Linked DNA regions of Homo sapiens: region 1 is linked to region 2. The links are contacts of gene promoters, found by promoter capture Hi-C in human tissues and cell types (Jung and others, 2019). All regions are on one chromosome and are shown on one strand. The core of a region is centred on a gene start or on the middle of the fragment in contact, and the rest is flanking DNA. Distances in the headings are between cores, read along the strand shown. Region 1 has its middle 5.3 kb from the start of CCDC43. Region 2 holds the start of ASB16 (ankyrin repeat and SOCS box containing 16).

Region 1 (5,734 bases), core at 1,234-3,733, 520 kb after region 2:
AATAGTAAATCAGGAAATTGATATAGGTATTATGCAATAAGGTTTTTTTGGTTTTTGTTTTGAGGTGGAGTCTCACGGTTGTCGTCCAGACTGGAGTGCAGTGGTATGATCTCAGCTCACTACAACCTCCGTCTCCTGGGTTCAAGCAATTCTCCTGCCTCACCCTTCCATGTAGCTGGGATTACAGGCACCCAGCACCACACCCGGCTAATTTTTTTCCTATTTTTAGTAGAGATAGGGTTTTGCCATGTTGGCCAAGCTGGTCTCAAACTGCTGATCTCAGGTGATGCACCTGCTTCGGCATCCCAAAGCGCTGGGATTACAGGCATGAGACACTGCTCCTGGCCATAATGCAATAAGGTTTTTTGAAAGCATCAACAAGCTTCTCAAAAACTGAATCAAGGTTCTCCAGACCCTAAATTTTAAGAATATCCTCAATGGCTATTTTACTACAAAAGTAACATAGCTCATGCTTTAAAAAATATTATATAAGGCCAAGCACGGTGGCTCACGCCTGTAATCCCAGCACTTTGGAAGGCCAACGCGGGTAGATCAACTGAGGTCGGGAGTTCGAGACCAGCCTGGCCAACTGGTGAAACCCCATCTCTACTAAAAAAATACAAAAAAATGGCCCTGCGCGGTGGCTCACACCTGTAATCCCAGCACTTTGGGAGGCCGAGGCGGGCAGATCACGAGGTCAGGAGATCGAGACCATCCTGGATAATAGGTGAAACCCCGTCTCTACTAAAAATACAAAAAAAAATTAACTGGGTGTGGTTGCGGGCGCCTATAGTCCCAGCTACTAGGGAGGCTGAAGCAGGAGAATGGCGCGAATCCGGGAGGCAGAGCTTGCAGTGAGCCGAGATCTGACCACTGCTCTCCAGCCTGGGCAACAGAGTGAGACTCCATCTCAAAAAAAAACAAAAAAAACAAAAAAATTAGCCAGCTATGGTGGTAGGCGCATGTAATCCCAGTTACTTGGGAGGCTGAGGCAGGAGAATTGCTTGAAACCAGGAGGCGGAGGTTACAGTGAGCTGAGATTACGCCATTGTACTCCAACCTGGGCAACAAGGGCAAAACTCTGTCTCAACAAAAAAAAAGAAAAAATTATATAAATGGATAAGCGACAAATTGAAAGCTTACAAAAAATAAAATACGCAAATTAAGATTGCAGTGAAATACCACGTCCGCTTTTCAGATCAAAAAAGTCTGATAATATGCTGTATTGAACTGTGCTTGGGTAAAAGACATTGGAAAATGTTAGAGCAGAAAGTAAATGGATCTGGTCTTGTTGGAGGACTGTTTGTTTGAAAAGACCCAGCATTTCTGCTTCTGGGAATTTGTTCATAAGTTATTCATTTATTTTTATCTTTACTTGTGGTAAAATACACAATTTGCCATCTTAACTATTTTTAAGTATACGATTTAATAGTGTTAAGTATTAATTATTTTTAAAATTTTTGGTTTAAACTGGGCGTGGTGCCTGTTTAAACTGGGCGTGGTTTAAACTGGGCGTGGTTGGCTGGGCGCGGTGGCTCACGCCTGTAATCCCCGCACTTAGGGAGGCCAAGGTGGGTGGATCACTGAGGTCAGGAGTTCAAGACCAGTCTAGCCAACATGGCAAAACCCTGTCTCTACTAAAAATATAAAAATTAGCCAGGTGTGGTAATGCATGCCTATAGTCCCAGCTACTTGGCCACTTGAGAAGCTGAGGCAGGAGATTCACTCGAATTCGGGACACGGAGGTTGCAGTGAGTTGAGATAATGCCACTGCATTCCAGCCTGGGCAACAGAGTGAGACTCTGTCTCAAAAAAAGAAAAAAATTTTGATTTAATATTTTGTATAATGGCCAGGCACACTGGCTTACACCTGTAATCCCAGTACTTTGGGAGGCTGACAAGGGAGGATTGCTTGAGGCCAGGAGTTCGAGACTAACCTGGTCAACATAATGAGACCCCAGCTCTACAAAAAAAAAAAGTGGTGGTGCATGTCTTTTGTCCTACCTACTCAGGAGGTTGAGGCAAGAGGATCACTTGAGCCCAGGAGCTCAAATTTACATGAGCTATGATGATGCCACTGCATTCTAGCCTGAACAACAGAACAAAACTCTGTCTTTAAAAAATAAAACTGTGCATTTGTGTAGAATCACATTTTTCTAAGGATATTCATTGTAGTGAAGCTTTTTGTAGTAAAAGAATAGTCTACATTTTATGTATATGAGACTGGTTCAAAAACTCTGGTAGCCACACAAAGAAGTATTGCACAGCTGTAAAAAAAAAAAAAAAAATGAACAAAGAGGCCGGGCGCGGTGGCTGGTGCCTGTAGTCCCAGCACTTTGGGAGGCCAAAGCAGGTGGATCACCTGAGGTCAAGAGTTCGAGACCAGCCTGGCCAACTAAAAATACAAAAATTAGCTGGGCATGGTGGTAAGCACCTGTAATCCCAGCTACTCGGGAGGCTGAGGCAGGAGAATCGCTTGAATCCAGGAGGCAGAGGTTGCAGTGAGAGGAGATCATGCCATTGCTCTCCAGCCTGGGCTACAGAGCAAGACTCCGTCTCGAAAAAAAAAAAAAAAAAAGAACAAAGAAGCTCTTTATGCACTGACATGTATCAAAGTTCGAGATACATTGTTTAAAAAGTACAGATCAACAATATGTAATGCTTGCCACCATCACTATTTAAAAAGAAGTTAGGGTAGGGGAATACATGTACATATGTGTCCTTGTATGTGCATAGGCTATCTCTGGAAAGATACACCAGGGATATGTGAGAATGGTTGTCCACTGAGGAGGAGAACTGAAGGAGACTGGTTTTGAACTGTTATATTTATTTACTTTGTATCTTTTTGTAAAAGAAAGCAAATTTGAAGCCCTTTCTCCAACCTCATTTTCTCCCCTCTCTCCCCAGATGTAACCACTATTCCTGAATTTGGTGTTTATTTTCTTCTTGAATGTTTTTAAACATAGTACACATTGCTACATATATAATACATATTACAACATATGGATGTATCCATAATATATCACATTGGTGTGCATGCTGTACTTTTCATTCTGCAATGTGCTTTTTCACTCAAGGTTGTTTAAAATATTTACCCATGTTGGGCCGGGCGCAGTCGCTCATGCCTGTAATCCCAGCACTTTGGGAGGCCTAGGCGGGTGGATCAGCTGAGGTCAAGAGTTTGAGACAAGCCTCACCAACATGGTGAAACCCCATCTCTACTAAAGCTACAAAAATTAACTGGGCGTGGTCACGCACGCCTGTAATCCCAGCTACTTAGGAGGCTGAGGCAGGAGAATAGCTTGAACCTGGGAGGCGGAGGTTGCAGTGAGCCAAGACTGCGCCACTGCACTCCAGCCTAGGTGACAGAGCAAGACCCTGTCTCAAAAAATATATACGTGTATATGGCCGGGCACGGTGGCTCATGCCTGTAATCCCAGCACTTTGGGAGGCCAAGGCGGGCGGATCACCTGAGGTCAGGGGTTCGGGACAAGCCTGACCAACATGGAGAAACCCCATCTCTACTAAAAATGCAAAATTAGCCAGGTTTGGTGGCACATGCCTGTAATCCCAGCTACTTGGGAGGCTGAGACAGGAGAATCGCTTGAACCCGGGAGGCGGAGGTTGCGGTTAGCCGAGATCGCGCCATTGCACTCCAGCCTGGGCAACAAAAGCGAAACCCCATCTCAAAAAAAAAAAGAAAAAAATATATATAATATATATGTATCTATATATATTTTATATATATCTTTACCCATGTTGATATATGTAGCTCTTATCCATCCATTTAAATCACTGCATAGTATTCCGTTGCTTTAATATGCTCCAGCTGATCCATTCCTCTGCCGATGGATGGTGAGGTTAGTTCCTAGTTTTCCAGTCAGTGCACCAGTTCACATTCTTAGGTGGTCCCCTTGCCCACCATGGGAAAGTTCCTCTAGATCAGTGAGCATCAGACATTTTTGCCACATACTCTTAGCAGTAAAAATATTCTCAGCATGTACACCTAATGCACTAATATGTAGTTATTTATGAATTATTTGTGTGAACTGCTATATCAAATTAGTATGTCCATCATAAAACATACAAAAAGAGAACTACAAAAAGGAGAAAATCGTTAAAAAATGAAGTAGGCCGGGCGTGATGGCTCACACCTGTAATCCCAACACTTTGAGAGGCCGAGGTGGGTGGATCACTTGAGGTCAGGGGTTCAAGACCAGCCTGGCCAACATGGTGAAACCGGGTCTGTACTAAAAATACAAAAATTAGCCGAGCAATGGTGGTGGGCATCTGTAATCCCAGCTACTCGGGAGTCTGAGGCAAAAGAATCGCTTGAACCCGGGGAGCGGAGGTTGCAGTGAGCCAAGATTGAACCACTGCACTCCAGGCCTAGGCGACAGAGCAAGACTCCGTCTGAAAAAAAAAAAAAAAGAAAGAAGTACATAATATAAATATTTATTATTTGTAGTATACCAAAAGTCCTTAGTAAAAATAATGTAGTTGAAGATGTTTCATTACCACCCCCACTTCTTTATTTATTTTTATTTTTAATTGTGGTAAAATATGTAATTTGGCATTTTAATCTTTTTTTTTTTTTTTTTTTTTGGTAGAGACAGGATTTCACCATGTTGACCAGGCTGATCTCGATCTCCTGGCCTCAAGCAATCCGTCCACCTCAGCCCCCCAAAGTGCTGGGATTACAGGCATAAGAGATTGCACCCGGACCCATCTTTTTTTTTTTTTTTTTTTTTTGAGACGGAGTCTTACTCTGTCGCCCAGGCTGGAGTGCAGTGGCGTGATCTCGGCTCACTGCAAGCTCCGCCTCCCAGGTTCACGCCATTCTCCTGCCTCAGCCTCCGGAGTAACTGGGACTACAGGCGCCCGCCACCGCGCCCGGCTAATTTTTTTTTTTGTATTTTTAGTAGAGACGGGGTTTCATCGTGTTAGCCAGGATGGTCTCGATCTCCTGACCTCATGATCCGCCCGCCTCGGCCTCCCAAAGTGCTGGGATTACAGGCGTGAGCCACCGCGCCCAGCCAACCCGGACCCATCTTAACATCCAACTATATACCAATTTATCCACCTCGGACCCCCAAACTGCTGGGATTACAGGCATAAGGGACTGCACCCGGCCCCATCTTAACCCTTTTTAAGTTTACCGTTTAGTAGTGTTAAGTATTCATTACCTTTTTTTTGAGACGGAGTTTTGCTCTTGTTGCCCATCCTGGAGTGCAATAGCGTGACCTTGGCTCACTGCAAACTCTGCCTCCCGGGTTCAAGCGATTCTCCTGCCTCAGCCTCCTGAGTAGCTGGGATTACAGGCATGCACCACTACGCCAGGCTAATTTTGTATTTTTAGTAGAGACGGGGTTTCTCCATGTTTGTCAGGCTGCTCTTGAACTCCTGATCTCAGGTGATCCGACTGCCTCAGCTTCCCAAAGTGCTGGGATGACAGGCGTGAGCCACCACACCCAGCTGTATTCATTACTTTAAAACTTTTGGTTTAACAATGTGTATTACAGCTATTTAAGTTCTATTCATTTCAATTCTTGGTTTTCATGACTGTCTTGACTGCAGTCTTGACCCCTATGATGGACTCTTAGGGGTTTATTATAGTACTCTATCTACTTTCATGAATATTTTTTATGCTCCATTTCTCTAAAATCTGCATCATTGTGCTTAACAAAACCAGTCATTTTAAAATCCCATCTACCAAGGCTTTTATTGAAATTGG
Region 2 (5,551 bases), core at 754-3,253:
TCCAGCTCAACCCCTTGGCTCTCCTCAGGCCGGCCATGTGAGCCCCCTTAGCAGCTGGGTTAAAAAAATAAATCAAGGATGATTGAAGGTGCTGGGAGCTGTGGCTCACGCCTGTAATACCAACACTTTGGGGGGCCGAGGCGGGCAGATCGCCTGAAGTCAGGAGTTTCAGACCAGCCTGGCCAACATGGCGAAACCGACTACTAAAAATACAAAAATCGGCCGGGCGCGGTGGCTCACGCCTGTGATCCCAGCACTTTGGGAGGCCGAGGCGGGCGGATCACGAGGTCAGGAGATCGAAACCATCCTATTCTTGGCTAATACGGCGAAACCTTGTCTCTACTAAAAATACAAAAAATTAGCCAGGTGTGGTGGCAGGCGCCTGTGGTCCCAGCTACTCGGGAGGCTGAGGCAGGAGAATGGCGTGAACCCGGGAGGCGGAGCTTGCAGTGAGCCGAGGTCGCGCCACTGCACTCCAGCCTGGGTGACAGAGCGAGACTCCATCTCAAAAAAAAAATAATAATAAATAAAAATACAAAAATCAGCTGGGCATGGTGGCATGCACCTATAATCCCAGCTACTCAGGCAGCTAAGGCAGGAGAATCACTTGAACCCCAGGAAACGGAGGTTTCAGTGAGCCGAGATCACCCCACTGCACTCCAGACTGGGTGACACCATGAGAAAAAAAAAAAAAGGATGATTGAAGGCAGTTTCTACAGACTAGTCTGTCCTGCTTGGAGAATGGGGGAGGCTGCCAGGTGGCTGCAGCAGCTGAAGGCAAAAAGTGTACCATCTTTTTTTTTTTTTCTTCTTTTTTTAAGAGATGGAGAGGCAGGGGGTGGTGGCTCACGCCTATAATCCTAGCACTTTGGGAGGCCGAGGCGGGCAGACCACGAGGTCAGGAGTTCGAGACCAGCCTGGCCAACATGGTGAAACCCTAAATTAAATCTCTACTAAAAATACAAAATTTAGCTGGGCATGGTGGCGGGTGCCTATAATCCCAGCTACTCAGGAGGCTGAGGCAAGAGAATCGTTTGAGCCCGGGAGGCGGAGGTTGCAGTGAGCCAAGATCGTGCCATTGCACTCCAGCATGGGAGACAGGGTGAGACTCTGTCTCAAAAAAAAAAAAAAAAAAAAAAAAGATATAGGTCTCACTGTGTTGCCCAGGATTGTCTCAAACTCCTAGGCTCAAGCAATCCTCCTGTCTTGGCCTCCCAAAGTGCTAGGATTACAGGCATGAGCCACCATTCTTGGCCCAAAGCACACCATCTATGTGGGGTCCTGGCTCTGCCTCTCACAAACTGTGACCTTGAGCCAGTAGATTACTTTGTTAAGCCTTAAATTCCTCATCTGTAAAACAGAGATAAGACCACCCATCTCAGGGGCATTCAACTGTGATAATTTCATTTATTGTCCAAACCAAGTTTACTAATTATTGGGTGGGCTGGGAAGTATGATCCCCTGGGTGAAGGTGGATATGAATGTGATTTAAACACCGTGAAACTCTGTGCATATGTACAGAGTTATTGCTGTTACTGCAGATGCTGGGAAGAGCTGCTCACCTTCTCAGTAACTCTGCCTTGACCTCCCCTTACCTCCTGTGCTGAGGTCAGCCCTCTCTCCTCCACGTGGGCCAATGGTGGCTCCTGCCCTCCAGCCAACATCAGAGAGGCTGGAGGCACCTTGTCTTCCTCCCAGCCCTGCCCATCTCCATGACTGACCTTTTTGCGCACCCTGGACCTTGCCAACCCAAGATGCTCGCTCTAGAGATGAAGGTGGATGCAGATGCTGGGGTTCGGGGGTGGCCTCAGCTGAGGGCCTGCTGACCAACCAAAGGGTATCGGCAGGGGCAGGGGCTGGCCCTCACCCTGGGCTGGGGGTTGGGCCAGCAGCTTCTCAGCACCAGGATCATGACTCTGAGCAAACCATGTTTACCAGAGCAGCAAAGGACCTATTTATAGCCTCAGCTGCTGCTTTCTCTGGCTCACGGTGGCGGGGGCAGGGTGGCTCCTCAGAGCAAGGGAGGTAGTCGGGTCGAGGGAACCTGGCTCTGCCCAGGTGCCACTGCCCAAACCCCTGGGCCCCATCCATGGCAAGAGAGACCTTCCCCTTCACCTCCTCCATGCTGCGCTCTCTCCGCCTGCAGCAGGAGTGGCTGGAATGGGAGGACCGGCGGCGGGCGGCTGCCCAGCAGTGCCGGAGCCGCAGGTGCCCGTCAAGTCCCCGGGCCCGACTCACTAGGCCTCACCGTTCCTGCCGAGACCCAGCTGTCCACCAAGCCCTCTTCTCCGGCAACCTGCAGCAGGTCCAAGCCCTGTTCCAAGATGAAGAGGCCGCCAACATGATTGTGGAGACTGTGAGCAACCAGCTGGCCTGGTCGGCTGAACAGGGTAGGGGGCACCAGAAGAGGGCAGAAGAGGAGGGAGAAAGAAGGGGAGTGGGTGGGGAAGGGGGAGAGTCTAGGCCCCTCCTTCCCTGCAGACCACAGACTATAGCAGCCCTTTCCACCACCTATCCTAGCTCCCTCCTAAACAGAGATGAGGCAGGGTTAGCAGTCTGTATGTCTTTTAAGAATTAAAAGTTGACCGGGCACAGTGGCTCACGCCTGTAATCCCAGCACTTTGGGAGGCCAAGGCAGGCGGATCACGAAGTCAGAAGTTTGAGACCAGCCTGACCAACATGGTAAAACCCCATCTCTACTAAAAATAGAAAAATTAGCCGGGCATGGTGGTGCGCACCTGTAATCCCAGCTACTCAGCAGCTGAGGCAGAAGAATCACTTAAACCCGGGAGGCGGAGCTTGCAGTGAGCCAAGATAGCGCCACTGCATTCCAGCCTGGGGGACAGAGCGAGACCCTGCCTAAAAAAAAAAAAAAAAGAGACAAGGTCTCACTATGTTGCCCAGGCTCATCTCGAACTCCTGAGGTCAAGTGATCATCCCGCCTTGGCCTCCCAAAGTGCTAGGATTACAGGTGTGAGCCACCACCCCAGGCCCCAAGGTGAACAAGCCTTTGACACTATTAGCCATTCAAAGACGCTGAGATTTCCTTAATGGGAGTCACTCTACTTAGTTGGCCCCTGTGGTTTTATACAGCAATTAATTTTTTTATGACACATACTATGTTTTGTTACAGATTGATAAGCTGTATTAAAAGGCTGTTCCAATTTATTCTTCCACTTCAGGACTTGAATAAGCCCCCTTCCACAGGTACAGCCTGGCAGTGTTTGTGCTCAGCAAACCATGCAGAGGGAAGGCCAGTGTCAGCTGTCAGCTGGAACCAGCATCCCCACTCCCTGCCCTGCCCTGTCTTATACACCACCTCCCAAAACTATTTGCTCTCCCTAGGGTTCTGGGTGCTGACCCCCAAGACCAAGCAGACGGCACCCCTCGCCATCGCTACAGCCCGAGGCTACACAGACTGTGCTCGACACCTGATCCGGCAGGGAGCTGAGCTGGATGCCCGTGTCGGGGGTCGCGCTGCCTTGCATGAGGCCTGTGCCCGAGCCCAGTTTGACTGTGTGCGGCTGCTGCTGACCTTCGGAGCCAAGGCTAATGTGCTGACTGAGGAGGGCACGACTCCTTTGCACCTCTGCACGATCCCCGAGTCCTTGCAGTAGGTGCCTGGGGGCTGAGACAGTTTGGGGAGAAATGTGTGTGTGTGTCTCCAGCTCACAAGGCCAGAAGAGGGAACCTGACAACCACATGCAGCTTTGTGGTTCATAAAGCACCGCATATACACATCTTCACAATAACCTGGAGACACCTCATCCTACAGATGAGAAAAATGAAGCTCAGAAAGGCTTAGTAACTTGTCCAAGGTCACATCTGCTAAGCCCAGGAGGCAGAAGCCCTGTTGCTTTTTGGGAAAACTCTGTTCCAACTGCAGTCTCCAATACCCTGTGAATCCTTTGTAGCCAAACCTAGCTGTTTTTTTTTGTTTTTTGAGACGAAGTCTTGCTCTGTTGCCCAGGCTGTAGTGCAGTGGCGTGGTCTCAGCTCACTGCAACCTCTGCCTCCTGGGTTCAAATGCCTCAGCCTCCCAAGTAGCTGGAATTACAGGTGTGTGCCACCACACCTGGCTAGGTTTTGCATTTCTAGTGGAGATGGGGTTTTGCCATGTTGGCCAGGCTGGTCTTGAACTCCTGTCCTCAAGTGATCCACCCACCTTGGCCTCCCAAAGTGCTGGGATTACAGGCGTGAGCCACCATGCCCAGCCCAAATTCCTAGTTGTTTTGAGGTATTAAGAAAGATCTGGCCAGGTGTGGTGGCTCACACCTGTAATTCCAGCTACTAGTAGGTCGAGGCACAAGAATCGCTTGAACCCGGGAGGCAGAGGTTGCAGTGAGCCGAGATTCTGCCACTGCACTCCAGCGAGACTGTCTTAAAAAAAAAAAAAAAAAAAAAAAAGCCGGGCGCCATGGCTCACGCCTGTAATCCCAGCACTTTGGGAGGCTGAGGCGGGTGGATCACGAGTTCAGGAGTTCAAGACCAGCCTGGCCAACATAGTGAAACCCCGTCTCTATTAAAAATACAAAAAATTAGCCAGGCTGGGCATGGTGGCTGGCGCCTGTAATCCTAGCTACTCGGGAGGCTGAGGCAGGAGAATCGCTTGAACCCGGGATGCAGAGGTTGCAGTGAACCGAGATTGTGCCACTACACACTAGCCCCTGCAACAGTTGAGACTCCATCTCAAAAAAAAAAAGACCTATGGGCCAGATTCAGTGGCTCACACCTGTAATCCCAACACTTTTGGAGGCGGAGGCAGGAGGATTGCTTGAGTCCAGGAGTTTGAGAATAGTTTGGGCAACGTAAGTGAGGTTTTTGTCTCTACTAAAAATAAAAACTAGCCGGGTATGGTGGCATGAGCCTCTAGTCCTAGCTACTCGGGAGGCTGAGGCAGGATGATCTTTTGAGCTCAGAAGTTCAAGACCAGACTGGGAAACATAGTGAGACCCTGTCTCTACAAAAAATAAAATTAGCCGGGCATGGTGGTGTGCATTGTAGTCCCAGCTACTCAGGAAAAGCATTTGAGCCCAAGAGGTCTAGGCTTCAGTGAGCTATGATCATGCTGCCACTGTACTCCAACCTGGACAACAGGGCGGGACCCTGTCTTAAAAAAAAGTGGGAAGAGAGGTATGGGGGTGCCTCACACCGATGTTAGGAAACACAGGGCTAGATTTTTTTTTTGGAGACAGGGTCTCACTCTGTTGCCCAGGCTGGAGTGCAGTGGCACAATCATGACTCACTTGCAGCCTCGATCTCCTGGGCTCAAGTGATCCTCCTGCCTCAGCTTCCAGGGTAGCCGGAATCACAGGCCAGTGCTACCACACCTGGCTATTTTTTTTTTTTTTTTTTTTGAGACGGAGTCTTGCTCTGTCTCCCAGGCTGGAGTGTAGTGGCCCGATCTCGGCTCACTGCAAGCTCCGCCTCCCGGGTTCCCGCCATTCTCCTGCCTGAGCCTCCCGAGTAACTGGGACTACAGGCTCCCGCCAACACGCCCGGCTAATTTTTTTTTTCTGTATTTTTAGTAGAGATGGGGTTTCACTGTGTT

Evidence for each region. Contacts are between HindIII fragments. The study calls those that stand out against the background at their distance.
Region 1: a contact is called between a fragment that was not itself captured here and the fragment with the promoter of ASB16 in region 2, in 1 of the 25 tissues and cell types used here (dorsolateral prefrontal cortex).

Annotation. Positions count from the first base shown.
Region 1 is chr17:44,692,250-44,697,983 of GRCh38, forward strand. No RefSeq gene overlaps it. Among named protein-coding and RNA genes, the nearest start is that of CCDC43, 5.3 kb to the left of the region's middle. The HindIII fragment of the contact is 6,435 bases long and covers 1-5,701 here.
Region 2 is chr17:44,168,701-44,174,251 of GRCh38, forward strand. It overlaps ASB16 (ankyrin repeat and SOCS box containing 16), which reads left to right and starts at 2,004. Exons shown (of 5, transcript NM_080863.5): 1 at 2,004-2,390; 2 at 3,346-3,613. The coding sequence starts at 2,090. The HindIII fragment of the contact is 17,920 bases long and covers 1,611-5,551 here.